Regions from separate parts of the Homo sapiens genome. Here regions 1, 2, 3, 4, 5 and 6 are each linked to region 7. The links are contacts of gene promoters, found by promoter capture Hi-C in blood cells and fetal thymus (Javierre and others, 2016). All regions are on one chromosome and are shown on one strand. The core of a region is centred on a gene start or on the middle of the fragment in contact, and the rest is flanking DNA. Distances in the headings are between cores, read along the strand shown. Region 1 overlaps TRPM7 (transient receptor potential cation channel subfamily M member 7). Region 2 overlaps TRPM7 (transient receptor potential cation channel subfamily M member 7). Region 3 overlaps USP50 (ubiquitin specific peptidase 50). Region 4 overlaps TRPM7 (transient receptor potential cation channel subfamily M member 7). Region 5 overlaps TRPM7 (transient receptor potential cation channel subfamily M member 7). Region 6 overlaps USP8 (ubiquitin specific peptidase 8). Region 7 holds the start of AP4E1 (adaptor related protein complex 4 subunit epsilon 1).

Evidence for each region. The method cuts DNA at HindIII sites, captures the fragments that hold promoters and counts their contacts. A CHiCAGO score of 5 or more calls a contact.
Region 1: a fragment that was not itself captured here is called in contact with the fragment with the promoter of AP4E1 in region 7 in 2 of 17 cell types (activated CD4 T cells and naive CD8 T cells); the score reaches 5.9 in activated CD4 T cells.
Region 2: a fragment that was not itself captured here is called in contact with the fragment with the promoter of AP4E1 in region 7 in 1 of 17 cell types (erythroblasts); the score reaches 5.1 in erythroblasts.
Region 3: a fragment that was not itself captured here is called in contact with the fragment with the promoter of AP4E1 in region 7 in 1 of 17 cell types (erythroblasts); the score reaches 6.0 in erythroblasts.
Region 4: a contact is called between a fragment that was not itself captured here and the fragment with the promoter of AP4E1 in region 7, in 1 of 17 cell types (endothelial precursors). The highest score is 5.1, in endothelial precursors.
Region 5: a contact is called between a fragment that was not itself captured here and the fragment with the promoter of AP4E1 in region 7, in 5 of 17 cell types (erythroblasts, naive CD4 T cells, activated CD4 T cells and 2 more). The highest score is 6.7, in erythroblasts.
Region 6: a fragment that was not itself captured here is called in contact with the fragment with the promoter of AP4E1 in region 7 in 6 of 17 cell types (endothelial precursors, megakaryocytes, non-activated CD4 T cells and 3 more); the score reaches 6.8 in endothelial precursors.

Annotation. Positions count from the first base shown.
Region 1 is chr15:50,576,399-50,579,625 of GRCh38, forward strand. It overlaps TRPM7 (transient receptor potential cation channel subfamily M member 7), which reads right to left. Exons shown (of 39, transcript NM_017672.6): 31 at 2,241-2,266. Among named protein-coding and RNA genes, the nearest start is that of USP50, 31 kb to the left of the region's middle. The HindIII fragment of the contact is 6,054 bases long and covers 1-3,227 here.
Region 2 is chr15:50,594,006-50,597,179 of GRCh38, forward strand. It overlaps TRPM7 (transient receptor potential cation channel subfamily M member 7), which reads right to left. Exons shown (of 39, transcript NM_017672.6): 23 at 2,250-2,376; 24 at 424-608. Among named protein-coding and RNA genes, the nearest start is that of USP50, 49 kb to the left of the region's middle. The HindIII fragment of the contact is 5,842 bases long and covers 1-3,174 here.
Region 3 is chr15:50,535,123-50,538,314 of GRCh38, forward strand. All of the region lies in intron 5 of USP50 (ubiquitin specific peptidase 50), which reads right to left. Among named protein-coding and RNA genes, the nearest start is that of USP50, 9.9 kb to the right of the region's middle. The HindIII fragment of the contact is 793 bases long and covers 925-1,717 here.
Region 4 is chr15:50,555,228-50,558,746 of GRCh38, forward strand. TRPM7 (transient receptor potential cation channel subfamily M member 7) reads right to left here. Exons shown (of 39, transcript NM_017672.6): 39 at 1,931-3,519. Among named protein-coding and RNA genes, the nearest start is that of USP50, 10 kb to the left of the region's middle. The HindIII fragment of the contact is 6,844 bases long and covers 1-3,519 here.
Region 5 is chr15:50,619,533-50,622,898 of GRCh38, forward strand. It overlaps TRPM7 (transient receptor potential cation channel subfamily M member 7), which reads right to left. Exons shown (of 39, transcript NM_017672.6): 13 at 213-266. Among named protein-coding and RNA genes, the nearest start is that of TRPM7, 66 kb to the right of the region's middle. The HindIII fragment of the contact is 2,794 bases long and covers 662-3,366 here.
Region 6 is chr15:50,495,248-50,498,632 of GRCh38, forward strand. USP8 (ubiquitin specific peptidase 8) reads left to right here. Exons shown (of 20, transcript NM_005154.5): 17 at 601-837; 18 at 1,842-1,984; 19 at 3,349-3,385. It also overlaps a transcript of USP50 not described here. Among named protein-coding and RNA genes, the nearest start is that of USP50, 50 kb to the right of the region's middle. The HindIII fragment of the contact is 176 bases long and covers 1,525-1,700 here.
Region 7 is chr15:50,906,741-50,910,093 of GRCh38, forward strand. It overlaps AP4E1 (adaptor related protein complex 4 subunit epsilon 1), which reads left to right and starts at 1,943. Exons shown (of 21, transcript NM_007347.5): 1 at 1,943-2,188. The coding sequence starts at 2,039. RefSeq lists enhancers at 1,536-2,277, 1,752-2,041, 2,062-2,231, 2,278-3,019. The HindIII fragment of the contact is 3,809 bases long and covers 1-2,343 here.

The DNA of each region.
Region 1 (3,227 bases), core at 188-2,687, 330 kb before region 7:
ATCTGCTATGTGCTAAGTTTCTAGAACACAAATAAAAAGAAACCTACTGTCTTGCAGGAAAAGGAAGTTAGCCAACAGTTTTAATACTGTATAAAAATATACTTTAAAAATGTGTATATACACATACATGTGTGCACATACTGTACGACTATATAGGAGTACCTAATGCCTTTTGGTTGAGAAGACGTCAAAGCTATCTCAGAGTAAGAGAAGGGGGAAGATTGACCTATAGTGCTTTTTGGACATACATCCACCCAGATGTCACTCCAAAATATTCTAATTCTGTAGGTATGTGTCATCATAGAAATGATTCTCTACAAATGATTTGAATATGCAGCTAAGACTACAAATTAATGGGCAAGAGTACAGGGATAACTGCAGGAGGTGAAGCTACAGAAACAGGGAATATCAAATTGTTAAGAGGAGGCCAGGCACAGTGGCTCACACCTATCATCATTAACACTTTGGGAGGCTGAGGTGGAAAGACTGCTTTGGGGCCAGGAGTTCAAGACCAGCCTGGATAACATGGCAAGGCCCCATTATCAACAAAAAAGATTTTTAAAATTAGCTGAGCAAGGTGGCACCCACCTGTAGTCCTAGCCACTCAGAAGGCAGAGGTGGGAGGAATGCTTGAGCCTAGGAGGTTGAGGCTGCAGTGAGCAAAGTCTGTGCCACTGCACTCCAACCTGGTGACAGAGAGATCCTGTCTTTGGCAGGGGAGGGGGCGGGAGGCGTGGAATTAAGAGCCTAAAGTGTGTGTGGGGGGGTAATTAAAAGCCTAATATGTCATGTTAAGGAAGAACACTGGATTTCATTAAACAACAATGGGGAAAAAATGTAAAGTGGAGGAGTGACCTTTAGAAAAATCAGGCCAGGTGCGGTGGCTCTCGCCTGTAATCTCAGCACTTTGGGAGGTGGAGGTGGGCAGATCATGAGGTCAGGAGTTAGAGACCAGCCTGGCCAACGTGGTGAAATCTCGTCTCTACAGAAACACAGAAATTAGCCGGATGTGGTGGTGCATGCCTGTAATCCCAGCTACTCGGGAGGCTGAGGCAGGAGAACTGCTTGAACCTGGGAGGCGGAGGTTGCAGTGAGCCAAGATCACACCACTATACTCCCTACTCCAGCCTGGACGACAGAGCAAGACTCCTTCTCACCCGGGGGCAGGGAAGGGTGGCAGAATAGAACATTGATGAGAAGCAAAACTACAGGCAGGGACCCCAAACTGGTATAACCACTCTGAAAACCTATTTGGTAGTAATTACCAAATGTGAACACATGCTAACTCTGACTCAGCAATTCCACTCCTAGGCATATGCCAATAATAAATAAATACATATGTTTATCAAACAACATGAACAAGAATGCTTGTAGCAGCAAGTCATAATAGCCATACAGTGGAAGCTACTGAAATGACCACCAAATAGCAGAATGGAAGTAAATTCAATATATTTACATAAGAAAATTTTATATAGTAGTGAGAATGCACAAATTACCACTATCCACAGCAATATTGATGAATTTTATAACAATATGTTAAGAAGAAGAAGCAAGACACAGAACAGTATATACTGTACAATTTCATTTATATAGCCAATATGCACATACATGCAAACACTCACACACGCACATACACCCCAAAATAGGTGAAACTATTGTTTTAGGGGCAGGGACTATAAGAAGTAGAAACAAAGGAATGGAGATATAGGCAAAATTGTTTTTAGGTGCTGATTACATGGCTATACTTACTTTGAAAGAATTCACTGAATTCTGCACTATTCTGTATGCACTATACACTTCGATAAAAGGTTGACAAAGTAATGGTCTAAGCTGAAAGCAGCAGTGGGATGTATAGTGGAGGATGGATTTTAGAGACATGTAGGAAGTAAATGCAATAGGACTTTGTGAGTACAAAGTCAAGGTGGTCAAGAATAACTCAGCTGACTAAAAGTTTCATTTGTTAAAACAGATGGAATATTAGAAAAGGAGCAGGCTGTATAGCAGAGACCAAGTAGCAGGGAGGAAGTGTGACAGTAAAGATATCATCATTCACAGGGTGATTCGTGTGTTTGTGAAACATCTACAGTAAGGAGAAAGTATATGAGGGAAGAACTCTTCAATACCTTGGCTTTTTCTAGCTTGAAGTCTAAAATATCTTACCTAGAATAATGTGGTGTTTGCTGTAACAGATCATGTAAGATTCTCATTTTTTTCACGTTCAATCTACCACACAGACTCACCATTTAATGTTCCTTCTTCAGATGGCCTAAAGAAACACCAAAAAATATAGTATAAGCTGTGCTATGATTTAAGTTTTGGCTATCATTTAATTTTTTGATTTTATACAATTATTATATAAAAAATATTATTAAGGAAATTCTGAAATTGATTCCCTTTGAATATTTGCCATTTCCCTTAAGCCAATCCCAATCCATATATAGATATATATATCTATATATATATATCCATATGTATCTACTTATTAATAACTTGTATCTCCAATTTATGCATAAATATTATTAGCAGTTTGGTGCCAAATTGAAGGCTCTATACTAATAAACTATTTCATAACTTCTGTATTCGTGGAGATTCATTCCAGTACTGTAACAATACATTGAGATGACTTTGCAGGATGCTAGAAATATTTCAATAGAATTGATGGACAAAGAACTGAGAGAAAAGTAAGTAGATGTCATTTTGCCTCTTAGTTTCTAATGTTGAAAAATATTTCTCCCAATGTTAACTGTATTTATTTATAACAACATACACTGGCACCAAATGCAGGTTCTTTTACTTCCAAGGATTCCAGTGTCAACTAGACACACAGGTAGAGTGGAAAAGAGAACAGAATGAGAATAAAGGAAAACGGGTTAGAGGCTTAGCACTTTCATTACACAGCTATGTAGCCTTGCTCAGGAATGAAAGGACCAGATCCAGAAAGGACCTTGGGAGTAGATAACCTGTCTCTTTCCAGCTCCTACATTCTATCTGACCCTGTTGTTTCCTGTTGATTTTCACCTTAATAGAAACATTTTCTTACAAAAAGTATTTTGAACCTAACATCATTCCTTTGCCTGCTGCTAATCAATCACTCTTTTCTCAGCACTCAAAGGGCTGCCAATCAGCTCCACCTTTATGGGTAATTCTCAGGGTCAGCATTCTGCAAGACAATGTTCTGTTGTTAGACACCGGAATTAACACCAACTTGAAGTGCCTATTTTGTACTT
Region 2 (3,174 bases), core at 309-2,808, 310 kb before region 7:
TCTCTCTCATACCTCTCCCTCACGTATCTACTCAGAGAAATTTAAGAACTAATTTGAAAGTCCCTGTAAAATTTTAAGCATAATTTGACACAGTATGATTAGTCTCATGTACACAGAATGTACTAAAATTGTTATTGTTTACAGAGCTGTAAAAATGGTTTGTAGAACAACAAAGAAGTTCGGTTTACATTACCATTTTAACAGAAACAGAGACGCCATTCTCATAACGAAGTTTAATGCTAAATCCATTTTTATAGATATCATATTGCACTTAAAAATTCCTTTATGTACAGGCATATTTAACAAAAATCTACCATAACATTAATCCACTAAGTCATTTTTGAATAAAATCAATATATAGCCTTTGGTGTAAAAATGAGAAGTGATAAAATGAAAACATTTGCCTTAATATAGTTTACTTACTTGGTCCATCGGAAGTCTTATCTTTCTTTCTTCTCTTACATATGCAGCAAAACAGAGAAACTATATGGCTAAGAATGATAAGTGGAGGAGGCAGAACTGGTTTCTCATGATAAGCCATAATAAAATGATAACGCTGGTACTTCCATACAATATTGGAAATTGCCTTCACTTGTAAATACACATTGCTAGAGAAATAATGAATAAAAATAAAATAAACTTTGTTAATCATCTCTTAAAGTTTTAAATACTGATGATTTCATTGTAATTCTGTACTAAATAATAATTCAAAAAATATCCTTCTGTAAACAAAACTAATAGCAAATGAGAAACTAGAAAAGATACAGGCAGTAAGTATAAGGCAAAGACTAACATTCAGCAGAAAAAAATAATTTAAAAAAATTTAAAATATTGTATGTAAATGGGTAAGACATAAGAAAATACTCAGACTTATTAGTAATCAAGTAAGTGCAAATTTTAAAAAACAAAATCCTGGCTGGGCATGGTGGTTCATGTCTATAATCTTAGCACTTTGGAAGGCCAAGAGGCAGGAGGAGTGCTTGAGGCCTGGAGTTCAAGACGAGCCTGGGCACCATAGTGAGACCCTGTCTATTTAAAAACAAAAAAGTTAGCCAGGCGTGATGGTGTATGCCTATAGTCCCAGCTACTCTGGAGGTGAGACAGGAGGGACTACTTGAGCCCAGATGGAAGAGGCTACAGTGAGCTGTGATAGTGCCACTGCACTCCAGCCTGGGCAACAGGCTGTCTCAAAAAATAAAATAAAATAATTTTATTTACTATCAAATTGGCAACCATTAAAAAAAAAATACTCAGTGTGGGCCGAGTTGAGGAAACAGGCCTATTTAGACTTAAGTGCAAAAGCCCTAAAAGTACATATACTGAACAGCCCTGCTTTTAGAAAAACATTCTAAACAAGCAAGTATTGCTCACAGATTTAACTACAATGTGGTGTTTAGGAGCAAGAATTACAATCTAATTGACCAATACAACATACTAGATTGAAAAATTATGGTCTATATCATGGAGTATCAGGTAGCCATTAAAAATAGACTGGAGAAGAATATTTGTTTATCTGAAATAATGTTCATGATGCTTTGCTTAGTTATAAAACAGTACATAAAATATAAAAATAGGCTAGGCACTGTGGCTCATGCCTGTAATCCCAGCACTTGGGGAAGCTGAAGTGGATGGATCACATGAGGCCAGGAGTTTGAGTCCAGCCCGGCCAACATGGTGAAACCTCATCTCTACTAAAAATACAAAAAAAATCAGCCAGGCGTTGTGGTGCACACCTGTAATCCCAGCTACTCAAGAGGCTGAGGCATGAGAATCCCTTGAACCCTGAAAACTAAGGTTGCAGTGAGCCAAGATTGTGCCACTCCAACCTGGGTGACAGAGGGAGACTGTGTCTCAAAAATAAATAAATTAAATAAAAATACTATTTCTGAAAAGAAAAATGGTTTACATATATTTGCAAAAAAAATGATAGAAAGGTGTACACCCAAATATTAACAGTGGAATTACTGATGAATTTTCTATATTGAATGCGTATTTGTTGGCAACCGAGGAAAAATCCCAGATAACGATTAAATTTATAAAGAAAACTGCAGGTTGAAAGATAATCAAACTTAAAATTTAGAACTCATTTGATTAGAAAAAGCATCTCCTATTTGTAATTTTTCAAATATAATTTTAGTAGTTTAAGCCTCAATAAAATTTTTAGATTTTAAGTTCTATAAATTTCCTTCAAAATATGTAGAATTGCATATTAAATCATCTTATAACAAACAATTGAACAAAATTCTTACTTGAAAAATGCAATAAGAAGATTAACCATAATGATATACTGTACAAAGAGGTAGACTGCTTGAAGAAATGGAGTCAACCACGTCCCAGGACCACAGATTTGAGGGATAACAGAATCATTTGCACACACTTTAGAGAGAAAAAAAGAAAAAAACAAAAACAACTTAAAAATAGTAATTCATCAGTAACTGCTATTCATGAGTGTTTCTGGTTATTTATTTACTTAAAGTAAGTTTCGATTATGTACAAATCTGTTTCACAGATTCCAGCAAAAGCATCTGGGCAAGGAGACATAGGAACCCCAGCTTAAGAGTGTTCAAACACAAAAAGATGTTGTGAGAAATGTGGGTGCTATCTGTTTTACAACTCTATTCCAGAAAAGAAAGTATATTTAGGTGTTATATTTACCCTTCGAGGCAGGGTTTAACCTGACGAGCACTAAAGAGGGTAAAATTCCTGGATCAACCATATGATAATATTTCTGTAAGAAAAATGTCCAAACTTTTTTTTTCCCCTGAGACGGAGTCTTGCTCTGTCACCCAGGCTGGAGTGCAGTGGCGCGATCTCGGCTCACTGCAACCTCCGGCTCCTGGGTTAAAGCAATTCTCCTGCCTCAGCCGCCCGAATAGCTGGGACAACAGGCATGCGCCACCATGCCCAGCTAATTTTGCATTTTTAGTAGAGACCGGATTTCATCATGTTGGCCAGGCTGGTCTCGAACTCCTGACCTCGTGATCTGTCAGCCTCAGCCTCCCAAAGTGCTGGGATTATACGCATGACTCAACTTTAAGAGTATGGTTGACTCATAGCAAAACATATACATTTAATAAAGAATATTGAGTTTATCTTATTATGTCACAAAAATGGGGCTGAAGAAATAGCTAAAAGTGCTTCTCAATTATACCGTGATTAGATTTGAATTCCTTG
Region 3 (3,192 bases), core at 71-2,570, 370 kb before region 7:
AGTGAAACTCTGTCACACACACACACACACACACACACACACAAAAATTGATAGAAGTGCAAGGAGAAATAGATGAATCACTTTTATAGTTGGAGATATCAACACACCTCTGTCAGAAATGGACAGATCCAGCAGGCAAAAAATTAGTAAGGACATAGTTAAACTCAACGACACCATCTGTCCATAGATGTAATTGACATCTGTAGACTCTTTCACCCAACAACAGCAGAATATATATTATTCTCAAGCTCACATGGAACATTCACCAAGCCTCTAGCTAGGCTAAATAAGGGTAAGTTAGACCTTCTGGCCTAAGGTGTGCTTGTTAAAACACACTTTAACAAATTTAAAATAATAGAAATCATACAATCTCTGCTCTCAGACCACAATGGAATTAAACTAGAAATAACAGAAAGATAATTAGGAAATCCCCAAATACATGGAGATTAAGCAACACACTTCTAAATAACACAAGTCAAAGAAGATAGCTTGAAAGAAATTTCAAAATGGGCTGGGCACAGTGGCTCACGCCTGTAATTCCAGCACTTTGGGAAGCCAAGGTGGGAGAATCTCTTGAGCCCAGGAGTTCAAGACCAGCCTAGGCAACATAGTGAGACATCAACTCTACAAAAAAATTTTAAAAATTAGCTGGGCATGGTCCTAGCTACATACCTTTATCCCAGGTATGCAAAGCTGGTCCTACATTGGAAAAATTAATGAAATCTATCACATAATTAGGTTAAAGGAAAAAAAATCACACACACAATCAAATCAACAGACACAGAAAAAGTGTCTGACAAAATCCAATACCCATCATGATAAAAACTCTCAGTAAACTAAGAATAGAGGAGAACTTCTTCAACTTAATAAAGAATGTCTACAAATAATCTACAGTAACATCATACTTAATGGTGAGTAACTAGAAGCTTTCCCACTACAGTCAGGAGCAAGGCAAGGATGTCCCCTCACCACTACTTTTCAACATTGTATTAGAAGACCTAGCTAATGCAATAAGAAAGACAAGAAAATAACAGGTATAGAGACAGGGAAGTAAGAAATAAAACCGTCTTTGTCTACAGATGACATGATTGTATATGTTGAAAATCTGAAGGAATCAACAAAAAAACCTCTTGGAAATAATAAACAATTATAGCAAGATTGTAGGATACAAGATTCATATACAAAAAGTATATTACACATCAGCTTTGAACAAATGGAATTCAAAATTAAAAATATGGCTGGGCATGGTGGCTCACACCTGTAATCCCAGCACTTTGGGAGGCCAAGGTGGGTGGATCACCTGAGGTCAGGAGTTCAAGACCAGCCTGGCCAACATGACGAAACCCTGTCTCTACTGAAAATACAAAAACTAGTCGGGTATGGTGGTGCATGCCTATAATCCCAGCTACTCAGGAGGCTGAGACTGGAGAATCACTTGAACCTGGGAGGCAGAGACTGCAGTGAGCCGAGATCGTGCCACTGCATTCCAGCCTGGACAACAGAGCAAGACTCCATCTCAAAAAAATTTTAATTTAATTTAAAATGAATTAAAAAAAAACACAATACCATTCACATTAGCACCCTCAAAAATGAAATACTTAGTTATAAAATTAACAAAATATGTACAAGACCTATAGAAGGAAAACTAGAAAATTCTCATGAAAGAAATCCAAGAGGAACCTAAATAGAGAGATATATTCTATATTCATGGATAAGAAGCTTCAATATTGTCAAGATGTCAGTTCTTCCCAACTTGATCTGTAAATACAATGCAATCCCAATCAAAATCCCAGCAACTTATTTTGTGGATATTGACAAAATGATTCTAAAGTTTATGGGGTGAGGTAAAAGATCCAGAGTAGCCAAAACTATACTGAAGGAAAACATAATTGGACTGACATTACCAAACTTCAAAACTTATTTTAAAACCAGAATAATCAAGACAATGTGGTATTGGTGAAAAAAATAGAAAAATAATGGTATAGACAAGAGAGCTCAGAAAGGGACCCACAAAGATATAATCAACTGATCATTGACAAAGGAACAAAGGTAATACAATGGAGAAAAGATGACCTTTTTCAACAAATGGTGCTAGGACAACTGGATATCCACGCGAAAAAAAAAAGAAGAAGAAGAAGAATCCACACACAAACCTTACACCCTTCACAAAAATTAACTCAAAATGGATCACAGACCAAAATGTAAAACAGAAAACTACAAAACTCCTGGAAGATAACACTGGAGAAAATCTAGATAATCTTGTGTTTGGCAATGACTTTTTAGCTACAACACGAAAGGCCTGCTTTACAAAAGAATTGATAAGCTGGACTCCATTACAGTCAAAATTTTCTGCTCTACAAAACACTGTCAAGAGAATAAAAAACAAGCCATGGACTAAAAAAAAAAAAAGACACATCTGGTAAAGAACTGCTATTGAAAATATACAAGAAACTTGGCCAGGCACAGTGGCTCATGCCTATAATCCAAGCACTTTGGGAGACCGAGGTGGGCAGATCGCCTGAGCTCAGGAGTTCAAGACCAGCCTGGGCAACATGGTGAAAACCTGTCTCTACCAAAAAAAATAAGAATTAGCTGGGCGTGGTGGCGGGTGCCTGTAGTCCCAGCTACTCTGGAGGCTGAGGCAGGAGAATGGCTTGAACTAGGGAAGTGGAGGCTGCAAGAACCAAGATTTCACCACTGCACTCCAGCCTGGGTGACAAAGCAAGAGACTGAAGAAAAGAGGGGAGGGGAGGGAGGGGAGGGGAGGGGAGGGGAGGGAAGGGGAGGGAAGGGAAGGGAAGGGAAGGGAAGGGAAGGGAAGGGAAGGGAAGGGAAGGGTCTTAAAACTCAGCAATTAGAAAACCAACAACCTGGCCAGGCGTGGGGGCTCATGCCTATAATCCCAAAACTTTGGGAGACCGAGGTGGGTGGATCATGAGGTCAAGAGATCAGACCATCGTGGCCAACATGGTGAAACCCCATGTTTACCAAAAATACAAAAAAAATTAGCTGGGTGCGGTGGCGTGCACCTGTAGTCCCAGCTACTTGGGAGGCTGAGGCAGAAGAATTGCTTGAACCTGGGAGGTGGAGGTTGCAGTGAGCTGAGATCACATCACTGCACTCCAGCCTGGCAACAGAGTGAGACTGTCTCAAAAAAAAAAAAAAAAAAAAAAAAAAAGACAGAAAAAGAAA
Region 4 (3,519 bases), core at 577-3,076, 350 kb before region 7:
TAGATCTTTCACTCATGCATTATTTTGTAATACTATGCATTGGTCATTCCGAAAATACTGGTTTAGTTATGCAGATCTTCGAAACACTGACACATCTCATTATACACTATCTAAATAAAATCATTTTTGGCCTGGTGCGGTGGCTCATGCCTGTAATCCCAGCGCTTTGGGAGGCCGAGGCGGGTGGATCACCTGAGGTCAGGAGTTCATGACCAGCCTGGCCAACATGGTGAAACCCCGTCTCTACTAAAAGCACAAAAATTAGCCGGGCGTGGTGGCTCATGCCTGTACTCCTAGCTACTTGGGAGGCTGAGGCAGGAGAATCACTTGAACCTGGGAGGCGGGGTTTGCAGTGAGTGGAGATCACGCCACTGCACTCCAGCCTGGGCAACAAGAGCAAAACTCCGTCTCAAAAAAAACCAAAAACCAAAAAACAAGTTTTAATATCAACACTACTGATTTCATTAGGAAAGTATTAGGAAGCTGTAGTGCTACTGGTGTTAAAGTCAAGTTTTCCAAAATTCCAATTTTCACTTGATTCATGGTAAGGTTCTGGCAGTTTTACCCATCACTGCTTTTACTCCATCAATAAAACTCTCAATACAGCGAAAAAGGCGAATAATATCTTAGTATTATAAGTTTTGACCTTATGTTATGTACACCTTGAAATTGTCCTGGGGAGACTCTCAGGGGTCTGTGACCCACCATGAGCACCACTGACCTAATTAATAATAGACCTAGGCAATGACTATCAAAAAGACAACCAGGCATGTGTTTCCTAACAGAATTATATACCCCCACCAATGAAGCATTCTTACCAAAAATTCAATACTGAATCTGATCAAGCCTTTAGACCTAACTAACCACTAGTTTATGACATATGCAGGAAACAATCAGCAAAATCTCAAATGTAGTAAACTTTTCAGGACAAGTAAGTTGGTTCTTTAAAACATAAGCAGGGGGCAAAGATGAGACAGAGAACCTACATACTAAGAGACTTTAAAAACAAGCAATTGTTGGCTGGGTTCAATGGCTCACGCCTATAATCCCAGCACTTTGGGAGGTGAAGGCGGAAGCAGGTGGATCACTTGAGGTCAGGAGTTCGAGACCAGCCTGGCCAACATGGTGAAACACCGTCCCTACTAAAAATACAAAAATTAGCCTGGTGTGGCAGCATGTGCCTGTAGACCCAGCTACTTCGGAGGCTGAGGCAGGAGAATCATTTGAACCTGGAAGCGAAGGTTATCACTCCACTGTACTTCAGCCTGGGCAACAGAGCAAGACTCTGCCTCCAATAAAAACAAAACAAAACTAGCAAGGAACTGCAATGTATGGACCTTCTGTGTCCTAATTAAATTACTTAAAACAAATTTTTTTTAGAGCAATGATTACATATTTGACAATATTTTTGGTTAAACTTTCAGGTGTAATAATGTTATAGTTCTTAATCTTTAAGAAACATATACTGACATAATTAAAATGAAAGAAAAATTCTGTAATGCAGGATTACACAGAAATTCCAAGGGAAATACAAGGAGAGAGCCTAATGTTGGTTTGGACAGCACAAGAAGAAAGTGCTCTGTTCACTGGTGCTATTTACTGTTAGCCTGAAGTGTGTGGCTTTTCTGAAGAATAACCACATCCTCTCCCATCTTCATGCCCACCAATGTGGAATCATGGGCCCCAGGAATGGAAATCTGCTTTAAGGAGTTTCCAAAGAAGTTAGAAAATCATATTCTAGAGAGGACCAGAGCCTTAGCCTGGAATTTTCCTAAGAAAAAGCTCACAGATCATTTGGGACCTTTAAATACAGATGCCTTGTTGAAACCCAGCTAGGAAGCAATAAGATCAGATATGGTAAATAAGGAGAAATTCAAAAATCCCTGTTGTGTAGACACATCATTTTCTGTAAATAATTACTTGATCTTTCTTTCAAGTGGTAAATAGCCATTTATTGAGTATTCTTGCTTTGATTGTCTACGTAAGCATGTAAGACTACAACATTACGACCCATCTCTTCAAGAGGAAGTCTGGTATTATGGAAAAACATTTTGTCATTCAGATTTTTTTTTCTTACAGTATGCCCATCACAAACCAGGCAGCAAGCAAGGTATTGGGTGCTACTCAATCCAGTGAAGTCTTGAGGGTCCCTTCCCTCTGTGAAGCATATAATCTAGTGGGGTAGACTGCTAGCTACTAACTATGAAAACAACATAGTCTGACTTGAGAGTGGGGAAAGTGGAACAAGGGAGTAATTTTTATATTTTTCTTCACATTTAAAAATATTTTCTAAACAATCCAATATAATCTTTTCTATAATTTCCAATACAATCAACATGTATTACTTGTAAAATAATAGCATACATATATCGACAGACTGAAGAAGGTATACTATTAGAGAACATTTGCAGAAAAGAATTCCACATCTTTTTTTTGAGACAGAGTTCTGCTGTCACCCAGGCTGGAGTGCAGTGGCAGCAATCTAGGCTCACTGCAACCTCCACCTCTTGGGTTCAAGCAATTCTCCTGCCTCAGCCTCCTGAGTAGCTGGGCCTACAGGCACGCGCCACCACACCCAGATAATTTTTGTATTTTTAGTAGAGACGGGGTTTCACCATGTTGGCCAGGCTGGTCTTGAACTCCTGACCTCAGATGATCCACCCACCTTGGCCTCCCAAAGTGATGGAATTACAGGCGTGAGCCACTGCACCTGGCCGAGAATTCCACATTTTAAGAATATGGTAAAAGAGTTTTATTCTCTTCAGTAAGATGAGGTTGAGAATAAAAAATTAAAAAGATTAAGCAAATGACACTTTCACATCATAGGGTAGTAATAATGAACTTTAATAATCTTAAAAAAATACTTATTGGGGATAAGAAATGTGGTTTACAAGTAAACTGTTACTTTCTAGACTTAACCCAAGAAGTTAATGGAGTAGGTGTGTTTCAGTAAAGTAACAGGAAATGGTACAGAAACCACCAATGGTCATCATGCTTGAGAGTCAATACAGCACATAATTCACAGCACAGATGAGGCTGGGTGCAGCAATTCATGCCTGCAATTCTACCACTTTGGGAAGCTCAGGCGAGAGGATCACTTGAGCCCAGGAATTTGAGACCAGCGTGGGCAACAAGGCTAGACCCCATCTCTACAAAATATATATTTAAAATTAGTTGGGTGTTACCCAGGCATGGTGGCTCACACCTATAATCCCAGTACTTTGGGTAGCCGGGGGAGGTGGATCACTTGAGGTCAGGAGTTTGAGATCAGCCTGGCCAACAAGGTGAAACCTTGTCTCTACGAAAAATACAAAAATCAGCCAGGCATTATGGTGGGTACCTGTAATCTCAGCTACTTTGGAGGCTGAAGCACGAGAATTGCTTGATCTTGGGAGGCAGAGGTTGCAGTGAGCCAAGATTGTGCCACTGTACTCCGGCCTGGGCAACAGAGTGAGACTTCAACTCAAAAAAACAAAAATAAATAAAAATGAAAAATAAAAAAATATATATATAAAATTA
Region 5 (3,366 bases), core at 809-3,308, 290 kb before region 7:
TTCCATAAACTCTCTTTTTTTCTTGTTTTCTGATACATTATGCTCTTTACTCCTCTCTTACCACAAATTCAGCCCATATTTTATCTTGTTCTGTAAACTGTAATTTTATTGGTATTTCTAAAATGTATTTAAATGATTTTTTTTTTAAAAAACATGAAATATAAATGATTTTTTAAAATAACATTTTTCAAAAGCAAAAAATAATCTCTTACCTGTTTGACGTCTCGAACAAGATGAAACAGCATTGGATTAGTTGGACCTTGTTTCTTTAGGGAGAAAAAGTTACAGCAAACTATTATTTTTCTTCTAAACTAATTTAAACCTTACAGGATTTTTATGAACCTTCTTATACAAATTACATTGTTTTGGAGTTATTTCCTTAAGTTCTATTCATAAAGTAGAACAACAAAGAATTTTCACATTTACTGCCAAAAAACAAATAATCTTAAGAGTATCACTAAAATGATACATAAGTTTTTGTTTCACAAAAGTCATCACTGCAACTTTACAATTGTATCTTAAATTTAAATTTACATTTCTTTCATTGATAATGGCGCTGTACAATACCTTTCTTCTTGTTAAAATGTCTGTTCCTCTGTTTCTGTCACTAATAAAGTCATATTGAGACTTTAAATATTTTGGGTAACAAGACTTTAACACAAGCTTGTTCAACCTGTAACCCACGGGCTGCATGCAGCCCAAGATGGCTTTGAATATGGCCCAAGACAAATTTGTAAACTTTCTTAAAACATAGAGTTTTTTTTTCAATTTTTTTCAATTTTTTTTTTTTTAAGCTCATCAGCTATCGTTAGTGTTAGTGTATTTTATGTGTGGCCCAAGACAATTTTTCTTCCAATGTGGCCCAGGAAAGCCAAAAGATTGGACATCCCTGATTTAACATTTATATATGCCATAATTTTGCCATTATCTTACTTCTCTTTATATATACTGTTAGAGTGGGCCACCTACCATTATTTCTTTGGAGAAAAAGTTATTTTCTTTGATATTCTTGGCTTTCAAATTCTATATAATATTTAAGATGACTACAATTGATATTGCATATGAATCATATTTTACTTTACTTTGCTCTGCCTTCTTTTTACAATATTTATTTAGGGCTGGGCGCGGTGGCTCAAGCCTATAATCCCAGCACTTTGGGAGGCAGAAGCGGGTGGATCACCTGAGGTCAGGAGTTCGAGACCAGCCTGACCAACACGCAGAAACCCCGTCTCTACTAAAAAAACACAAAATTAGCCGGGTGTGGTGGCACATGCCTTTAATTCCAGGTACTCGGGAGGCTGAGGTAGAAGAATCGCTTGAACCCGGGAGGCGGAGGTTGCGGTAAGCCGAGATCGCGTCATTGCACTCCAGTCTCAGCAACAAGAGTGAAACTCCATCCCCCAAAAAAGTAAAAAATTTAAAAAATTCCATCCTGGCTAACACGGTGAAACCCCGTCTCTACTAAAAATACAAAAAATTAGCCGGGCATGGTGGCGGGCGCCTGTAGTCCCAGCTACTCGGGAGGCTGAGGCAGGAGAATGCCGTGAACCCCTGGGGGCGGAGCCTGCAGTGAGCCAAGATCGCGCCACTGCACTCCAGCCTGGGCAACAGCGAGACTCCGTCTCAAAAAAAAAAAAAAAAAAAAAAAAACCTATTTATTTAGTCGATCAACTCAGGGGCTAAGTTCTCTCTGCCAATTCTCCCCCACAGGTGAACTTTTTAAAATAAAAGTTTCTTCTAAGTTAATAAGACGTATCTCATATTTTGGGGGTATTGGGGAATTTCATTGCATTTTTCTCTAACGGTATGTAATCACATGGAAAGGCACTTAAAATTTCTTAAATTCTATTTTATCCTACTCTATTAAATGTTTATCCATTAAAAATAAATTGTTAATAAATAATAAATGTACTTTAACACAGTAATTCTCAAAGTGTGACCTGGGGACACCTGAGGCCCCCATGATTCCTTCAGGAGTTCCACAAGATCAAGACTTTTTTCCTAATCATATTAAAATTGTATTATTTCATTCTTATTCTCTCAGTGTTTGGTGGAGTTTTCCAGAGGCTTTTTGATGTGTGATATTGTGAGATTGAATTCAGAAGCAAATACGAGAATCCAGCTGCTTTTATAAGGCTAGACTTTAAAGACATTTGCAAACGTGTTTTCCTCTTCTCACCAATTTTTTTGTTTTCTTTAAAAATAAAAACATAGCAGGCTGGGTGCGGTGGCTCATGCTTGTAATCCCAGCACTTTGGGAGGTCGAGGCAGTGGATCACCTTAGGTCAGGAGTTCAAGACCAACCTGGCCAACACGGTGAAACCTCATCACTACTAAAAATACAGAAATTAGCTGGGCGTGGTGGTGGGCATCTATAATCCCAGCAACTTGGGAGGCTGAGGCAGGAGAATCGCTTGAACCTGGGAGGTGGAGGTCGCATTGAGCCAAGATTGTGCCACTGCTCTCCAGCCTGGATGACAAGAGCAAAACTGCGTCTCAAAAAAACAAAACAAAACAAAAAAAAAGTATCAGGCAGAAGGGTGCTAATTTAAGAAAAAAGAAATAAGAACAAATATTTATGTTAATATGGGATAAGTTTAGAAATTTTAAGTAAATATAACTGCTACTTTAATAAAAACAAATATTTTTTAAAACTCTCATTTTTACATTCTAAAATACCAACACACACAAACAAAACCTCTTTAGAAAAGCTCTTTGAAGTTCTCAATAATTTTAATGTAAAGGAACCCTGAAAATCAAAAAGTTTGAGAACTACTGCTTTATCATGTTGCAAGCCCTTAAATGTTTTAAAACTTCATCAATAATTGATGCTGAAAGTAACTACAGTATTATCTTAACACCTTTGAGTCATACAATTTAAAAAATTACTTGTCTTGCTAATGGGATCAATTTTTATTTTTATTATTTTACATTGCTTTATAGTTCAGGTATAAACCTTACTACAGCACAATGAATAATCCTTTTAATTTTTACATCTGTCCACTAGGGACAGTAAAATGCCAACAAAGTTCAACGCAAATGTGCTACACATACTAAAAGAAAATAATGGAAGCTGGGCCCAGTGGCTCACGCCTGTAATCCCAGAACTTTGGGAGGCTGAGGCAGGCGGATCATCTGAAGTCGGGAGTTCAAGACCAGCCTGGCCAACATGGCGAAACCCCATCTCCACTAAAAATACAAAAATTAGCTGGGCATGGTGGCATGCACCTGTAATCCCAGCTACTCAGGAGGCTGAGGCAGGAAAATTGCTTGAACCCGGAAGGCAGAGGTTGCAGTGAGCCCAGATCGTGCCACTGCGCTCCAGCTTGGGCAACAGAGTGAGATTCTTTCTCAAAAAAAGAAAAA
Region 6 (3,385 bases), core at 363-2,862, 410 kb before region 7:
GTATATATACATACATATATACACATATATATACACATACATATATACATATATACGTGTATATATACATACATATATACACATATATATACACATACATATATACATATATAGAGAGAGAGAGGCTAGGGCAACAAAATTATATATGTCCAGTTGTAGCCCTAATTCCCAGCTATATGTGGGATATCTTTTCTAAAAACCAAACTTTTTAGCTTTTTCTTTTTTTAGTAGAGATTGGAGGGGGGGGTCTCACTATGTTGCACAAGTTGGTCTCGAACTCCTGGCCCCAAGCAGTCCTCCTGCCTTGGCTTCCCAGAATGCTGGGATTACAAGCATGAACCACCACATCTGGCCCTTTTCAGCTTTTTAAATAAAAATTTGGGAAATTTCAACAAGTCACATTCCTTCAATAAAGTGAGTGAGTTTTTTTTGGTATTTTTGGCTAGAATTATTTTTTGCCACACTCAGTGAGATCAGAACTCCTTTATGAGAACTACAGGTGTTTCTAAATCTGGCAAGTGTTTGTATTCACTTTTATTCTTTCAATTTAAATGTTTTCTTTGAGATATTAATATAGAGCTTAAATCATTTTATTTCCAGGCTGATAATCGGAAGAGATATAAAGAAGAAAATAATGATCATCTCGATGACTTTAAAGCTGCAGAACATGCCTGGCAGAAACACAAGCAGCTCAATGAGTCTATTATTGTTGCACTTTTTCAGGGTCAATTCAAATCTACAGTACAGTGCCTCACATGTCACAAAAAGTCTAGGACATTTGAGGCCTTCATGTATTTGTCTCTACCACTAGCATCCACAAGTAAATGTACATTACAGGTAAGTTTAAGAAGTAGAGAGAAAATGATTTATTGGATAAAAATGCTGTTTTTATGGATATAGAGATGTAAATTTCTGGTCTTTACCCTTACAAACATTTTATCAGTAAAACTCGGCCGGGCGCAGTGGCTCATACCTTGTACTCCCAGCACTTTGGGAGGCCGAGGTGGGCGGATCACGAGGTCAGGAGATCGAGACCATCCTGGATAACACGGTGAAACCCCATCTCTACTAAAAATACAAAAAATTAGCCGGGCGTGGTGGTGGGCACCTGTAGTCCCCGCTACTCAGGAGGCTGAGGCAGGAGAATGGCGTGAACCCTGGAGGCGGAGTTTACAGTGAGCTGAGATCTCGCCACTGCACTCCAGCCTAGGGGACAGAACAAGACTCCGTCTTAAAAAAAAAAAAAAAAAAAACCTTTTATCAGTAAAACTCAATATAAATTCTGTTTTATAATTAGGCCTATGTAGATTAGAAAGAATTAGAAATTTCTTTTTTAAAGATACCTTTATTAAATATTCTTTCAGGATTTCAGGATTGTTAGTATGTTTTTAAAAAGTTTTATAAGTTAATTTGGAAAGTTGTCTGTTGACTAACTTAGGCCTACTTTTCATAAGCATTTGCTTTACATGGGGATATCAAATAAATATCCTGTTTTCCATGTATCAACAATGTTTCTTATATAAAAGCTTGTTGATACCTTTAGTCTTAAAGTACCTCCAGAATGTCATTTCCTCCAACAGGGTTTCTCTGATTGACCAGGTTAGGGGCTTTCCTGTGTCCTGTCACAACACACTGTAGGTAGCACTCACCACACTCTGTGCTGTCATTGTTCACTTGTCTATGCTTCTCACTAGATCACAAGCTTTGGGAAGGCAGGAACTCTTTTGTGTAGATTGCTGTTGAATCACTGGTGCCTGCAGAGTGACTAACTAAATAGGTGCTCTCTGACATTATTGAAGAATCGAATTAACGAGTATCTGCTACTTGTTTTTTTCTGCCAGGATTGCCTTAGATTATTTTCCAAAGAAGAAAAACTCACAGATAACAACAGATTTTACTGCAGTCATTGCAGAGCTCGACGGGATTCTCTAAAAAAGATAGAAATCTGGAAGTTACCACCTGTGCTTTTAGTGCATCTGAAACGGTAAAGGGGAAAGTTTGTCCTCCTGTTCAGTGAAATTAAATGAGGGAATTTTAAGTTCTGTGTAATTTATACTTGTTGTACTGCCTGCCATGGGCACATAACAAAGGGCGATTATCTGGTTACAGTAGATCTAGGGAAATAAAGCAGAAATGAGACTGTTAGTTCACCTCAGTGTTTTCAGTACCACAGCAAAATGACAATACCACTATTTCATGTAATTCCTTATAATTTTAAATAATTACAAAGCATCAAGTGAAAATGTATAAAAATATTACAGTATAATTCAAACAAATTAGCACATGAAATGTAACATTCAAACAGCAGACTAAAGCATAACAGACTTAGTTATGTGTTAAATAAAATTTATAATTTTTAAAGTATTTTAATGATAAAATATGTTAACGATACCATTAAGTGCAGAAATAATTTCATCCAGATTTTTCCAATTGATGGAAAAGATCTAGTCCTATAATAGAAGGAATAATGACAAGAGTTATAAAACACGAACCAGATCTTTTGCTGATTCTTTGGTCTTCACATAATCACATAATCCATGTAACTCAAGAACTTTGAGTTGATTATTTGAAAAACTTTTTAAAGGAAGTTGCACTTTTTTATTGAGAGCTGTAATTTTTGTGTCAAAAAAGCATTTCTGTTAAAAATGTTTTATCTTGTATTGAGATTCTTAGTTCCATATATTAATTTCCAAATTTACATGTTCAGATTTCTCTTGTGTAAATTTTTCTAACAAAAGCTAGTTTTTTCCATTGTCCTAGTTGAGGATTCTGGAAGTATAAACATTCTATAAGTGATTACACATTTGCTAAAATTTTTAATGCTGAATATTTTCAAAATTATGAAATAACCATATTACACCAACCAAGATATCATTGTTTTGATGTTTAAAGGAGCAGAATATGCCAGAATAATGGAATGAATGACATTATTTTAGTCAGTAGTCTCCTACTCTCAATTTCTGGCTCTAGTTTTCTCTGAAGTACAAGCTTGACTCGAGAGCAGCTGTCATTCTTTCTTTTGTGGTGGTCAGCATTATAAACATGTGGGTCTTACCTTCCTAGAAGACTCATGTAGCAGTTGTAGCTGGACCAGAGTATAGTCCTACCTCTACCATTCTGGCTGTTTGACCTTAGGCACATCATTAAATATCCATATGCCTCAGTTTTCTTGTTTGTAAAATGGAAATGAAGCCAAATGTCTTTAACAGGTTCCTCTACTACTAAAATTCCAAGTCTTTGTATTTGAAATGGATTTTACAGTCCTGGCTAAAAATCTAGATGTTAATGAATGAGGATTCATCCTGGTATCTTCCTCTGTCAGTGTAATTGTAATGTTTTGTTCTGCAGTTTTTCCTACGATGGCAGGTGGAAACAAAAATTACAG
Region 7 (3,353 bases), core at 693-3,192:
AATGAATAAATGAGTATCCCTTTTAGATAAAGTTTAAATATTTTAAAATGTTCTCAATATATTAAAAAATATTCTTGCGAGACAAGCCAACAAATTGAACTTTTTTCTTATGTTCCCATATAGGTATTAAAACAACTTCAGGATTTCAAAAAAACTCATTTATTAGGTGACAAGGAGGTTACAGAGATTAGAGCAGGTATAACCGAAGATAGCTTGTAAGTGTAGCTGTAGCTGGTGGGCCGGTTGAGGTTCTGGACTTCGCGGTGCAAAATAATTTTGAAGTCCAAAGTAAAAGCAAGCAAAAGAGTTTATTGCAAAGCGAAAGTACACCCTCACAGCTGATCAGAGCGGGCTGCTCAAAGGTGAGACAGCATGCACTGACACTGGGGAAACTCCCTTTGTAGGAGTCTCACAGGATCATTCATGAAGCGGGGAGAACGGGTGCTGCTATTAAGCACGTTCTCTGGTTTTCTGTCGCCATGTGCGCTGTGGTTGTATATGCTAGTACATACACTGCATGTCTTATTAGTATCTTAAATCTTCACCCAGGAGTGGTGTTTTTTTTTTTTTTTTTTTTTTACTATTATAATGAGTATAATTCAGCCCAACGACACTGATCATGGGTTTCTGCGCTTGTGAGAGTTTGGGGATTTTCCCTTCTGCTCTCGTACCTCTTTGCTGCAAAATTTTCTAACCAGGAGCCTCGGATGTGGTTTGTACACTATGGGCTGGTTTGTTCTATTTATTTAGCAAGTTTGTTCCCCTTGAAGGGAGGCTATCACCACCTACCTAACCTACCTCCTAGAAACACACTAGGAGTACTGAGAGCAAATTGCATTAATCTCTGAAAACGCACGTATTTATGCCCTAAACCTACTACCTTAGAAAATTCTAGAAAACACAAGGATACTCCAGGATACATTTTACCAGCTAGTCAATCGTCATCTAGCCGCTTGAAAACTCTGTACATTTCCAACAGAATGAGGGTAAAAACGGCAAATAACACGTAAGAAACGTTATCAATGTTGTTTTGACTTTGTGAATTCCCTAGAAGGGTCTCAGCGACCCTGAGGTCACCAGACCACATTTCGAGAGCCATTGTACCAGACTCTGTTCTAGATAAAAGACGGAGCAATCGGAATGAATAAAATACTCTCTCTATGGGGAGCTGTTTACGTAGTGGCAACTGCGACCTGTTCTAAAGTGGAACAGAACCGAGCGCTGTGAGAGGGTGGGACTTGGAGACCTATCCTTGCCCGCCGGGCCAGGGGAGTGGGCTCTAGAAGGATGACCTTTCAACTGCGACCTGCTGAGGAGGAGTCGGCAAGGGTGGCCGCCGACCAGTTCTCTTTCCCGCCCACCTCCCCAAATCCCAGGAGAAGAGGGGCGGACGGGAAGCGACAGTGGCCGCGAGTCCCCGGCACGCGACGGGCTCTCAACCTGGCACGCCGAATCCTCAGGACAGCCCCGCTATCACGCAACTACTCGGGTGTCCCAAGAGTCGCCAGGGCCGGAGCCGCGCGCGGCGCCGGGGACCCGCGTGAAACCGCCTGTGGGAAGCGGGCGGGTGGCGCGCGCTCCGGGGACAGTGAGAGGCGGCGGACGGCGCGGGGACGTCCCGAAAAAGGCGCAGCCAGGAAGACGCAACTCCTGACGCGGTCTCGGGCTACGCGGAGGCGGCTAGTGGGAAAGGGGGACTCTGGGAGACAGTGCCTAACAGGGCCAGGCCCCCGACGGCTTCCTCAGGAGGACTCACGGTTCTGGGGGATTCCGGAACCGCTACCCCGTCGCGAGAAAGGAGGTCTACTTACGCGCGCAATCTCGAGCGAGCGGCCTTTTCCACCCCCGCGGTCTCTTGCGCCCTCTGGTGGCCTCTCGCGAGAACGACGCTGAACTTGTTCAGGTGGGACGCCAATAAAGATTTCTTATTCAAAAAACAGGAAGTGCCTACGGAGGCCGGGCCGGCAGCGGCGGCCGGGCATGAAGCCGGGCGGCTACGGGATCGCGGGCGGCGGCGGCATCGCGGGCGGCGGCGGCGATGAGCGACATAGTGGAGAAGACGCTGACGGCGCTGCCGGGACTCTTTCTGCAGAACCAGCCCGGTGGTGGGCCCGCGGCCGCCAAGGCGTCCTTCTCCTCGAGGCTGGGCAGCCTTGTCCGCGGCATCACAGCCCTCACCTCCAAGCACGTAGGTGCCCGCCGGCCCGGGAGCTCAGGGACATCGGAGTGAGGCCCCCGCGCCAGGAGGCCCTGGCCGGGCGGCGAGACTTCAGGGCCTCTGGGGTTAGCCCTCCGGCGGGGCTCAGGGGCTGCTGTGTCGGTTCGTCCTTTCGTCTGCCTGGAAGCTTCACTTTCCTGCTGGGACTGACAGCAGGGAAGCCGAGTTTCCACAGTTAGTTCTGACACTGACTCTTTGATCGGGGGCACATCTCTGTAACCTCTGAGCCTCCGTGTGTTTTCTCAACGTTGTGGTGGAAAAGTACTGATACATAATTCATAGGTTTTTTGTTTGTTTTGAGGATTGGGTGAGATGTCAAGCGTGTGAAAATACCTAGTGCGATGGAAGTGTCAGACATTATTTACCTTCCACAAAGTTTTTTTTCCCTACTCAGTTTCCTTCTCTCCCCCGGTGCCTTCAACTGAACAACAGTTCAGATGTCGCATACCTGAAGAGATCCTGTGAGCCTCTTGTTGAATATCTTTGGGGAGCTTGAGGTTCTTGGGTTACAACAACGTGTTGGGCAAAGAAAAAGCACAGTTCTCTCAAAATGTAAAATTTGCTAAGTCTCTGCCTCAAGTGGGCTTTGAAAATGAGCAGTTATAAAAATTCTTAAACTTTTAAAATTTTTAAATTTTTATTGACGGAGTCTCTCTCTGTCGCCCAGGCTGGAGTGCAATGGTGCGATCTCGATCTCGGCTCGCTGGAGCCTTAAGGTTTTAAAAATTTTAATTTTTGTTTTTTTTTGAGACGGAGTCTCGCTCTGTCGCGCAGGCTGGAGTGCAGTGGCGCGATCTGGGCTCACTACAAGCTCCGCCTTCCGGGTTCACGCCATTCTCCTGCCTCAGCTTCCCGAGTAGCTGGGACTACAAGTGCCCGCCACTGCCTGGCTAATTTTTTGTACTTTTCGTAGAGACGGGGTTTCACCGTGTTAGCGAGGATGGTCTCGATCTCCTGACCTCGCGATCCGCCCGCCTTGGCGTCCCAAAGTGTTGGGATTACGTGCGTGAGCTACCCTGCCCGGCCTTAAAATTTTTAAATTTTTAATGACGGAGTCTCGCTCTGTCGCCCAGGCTGGAGTGCGATGGTGCGATCTTGGCTCACTGGAGCGTCTGCCTCCCGGGTTCAAGCGATT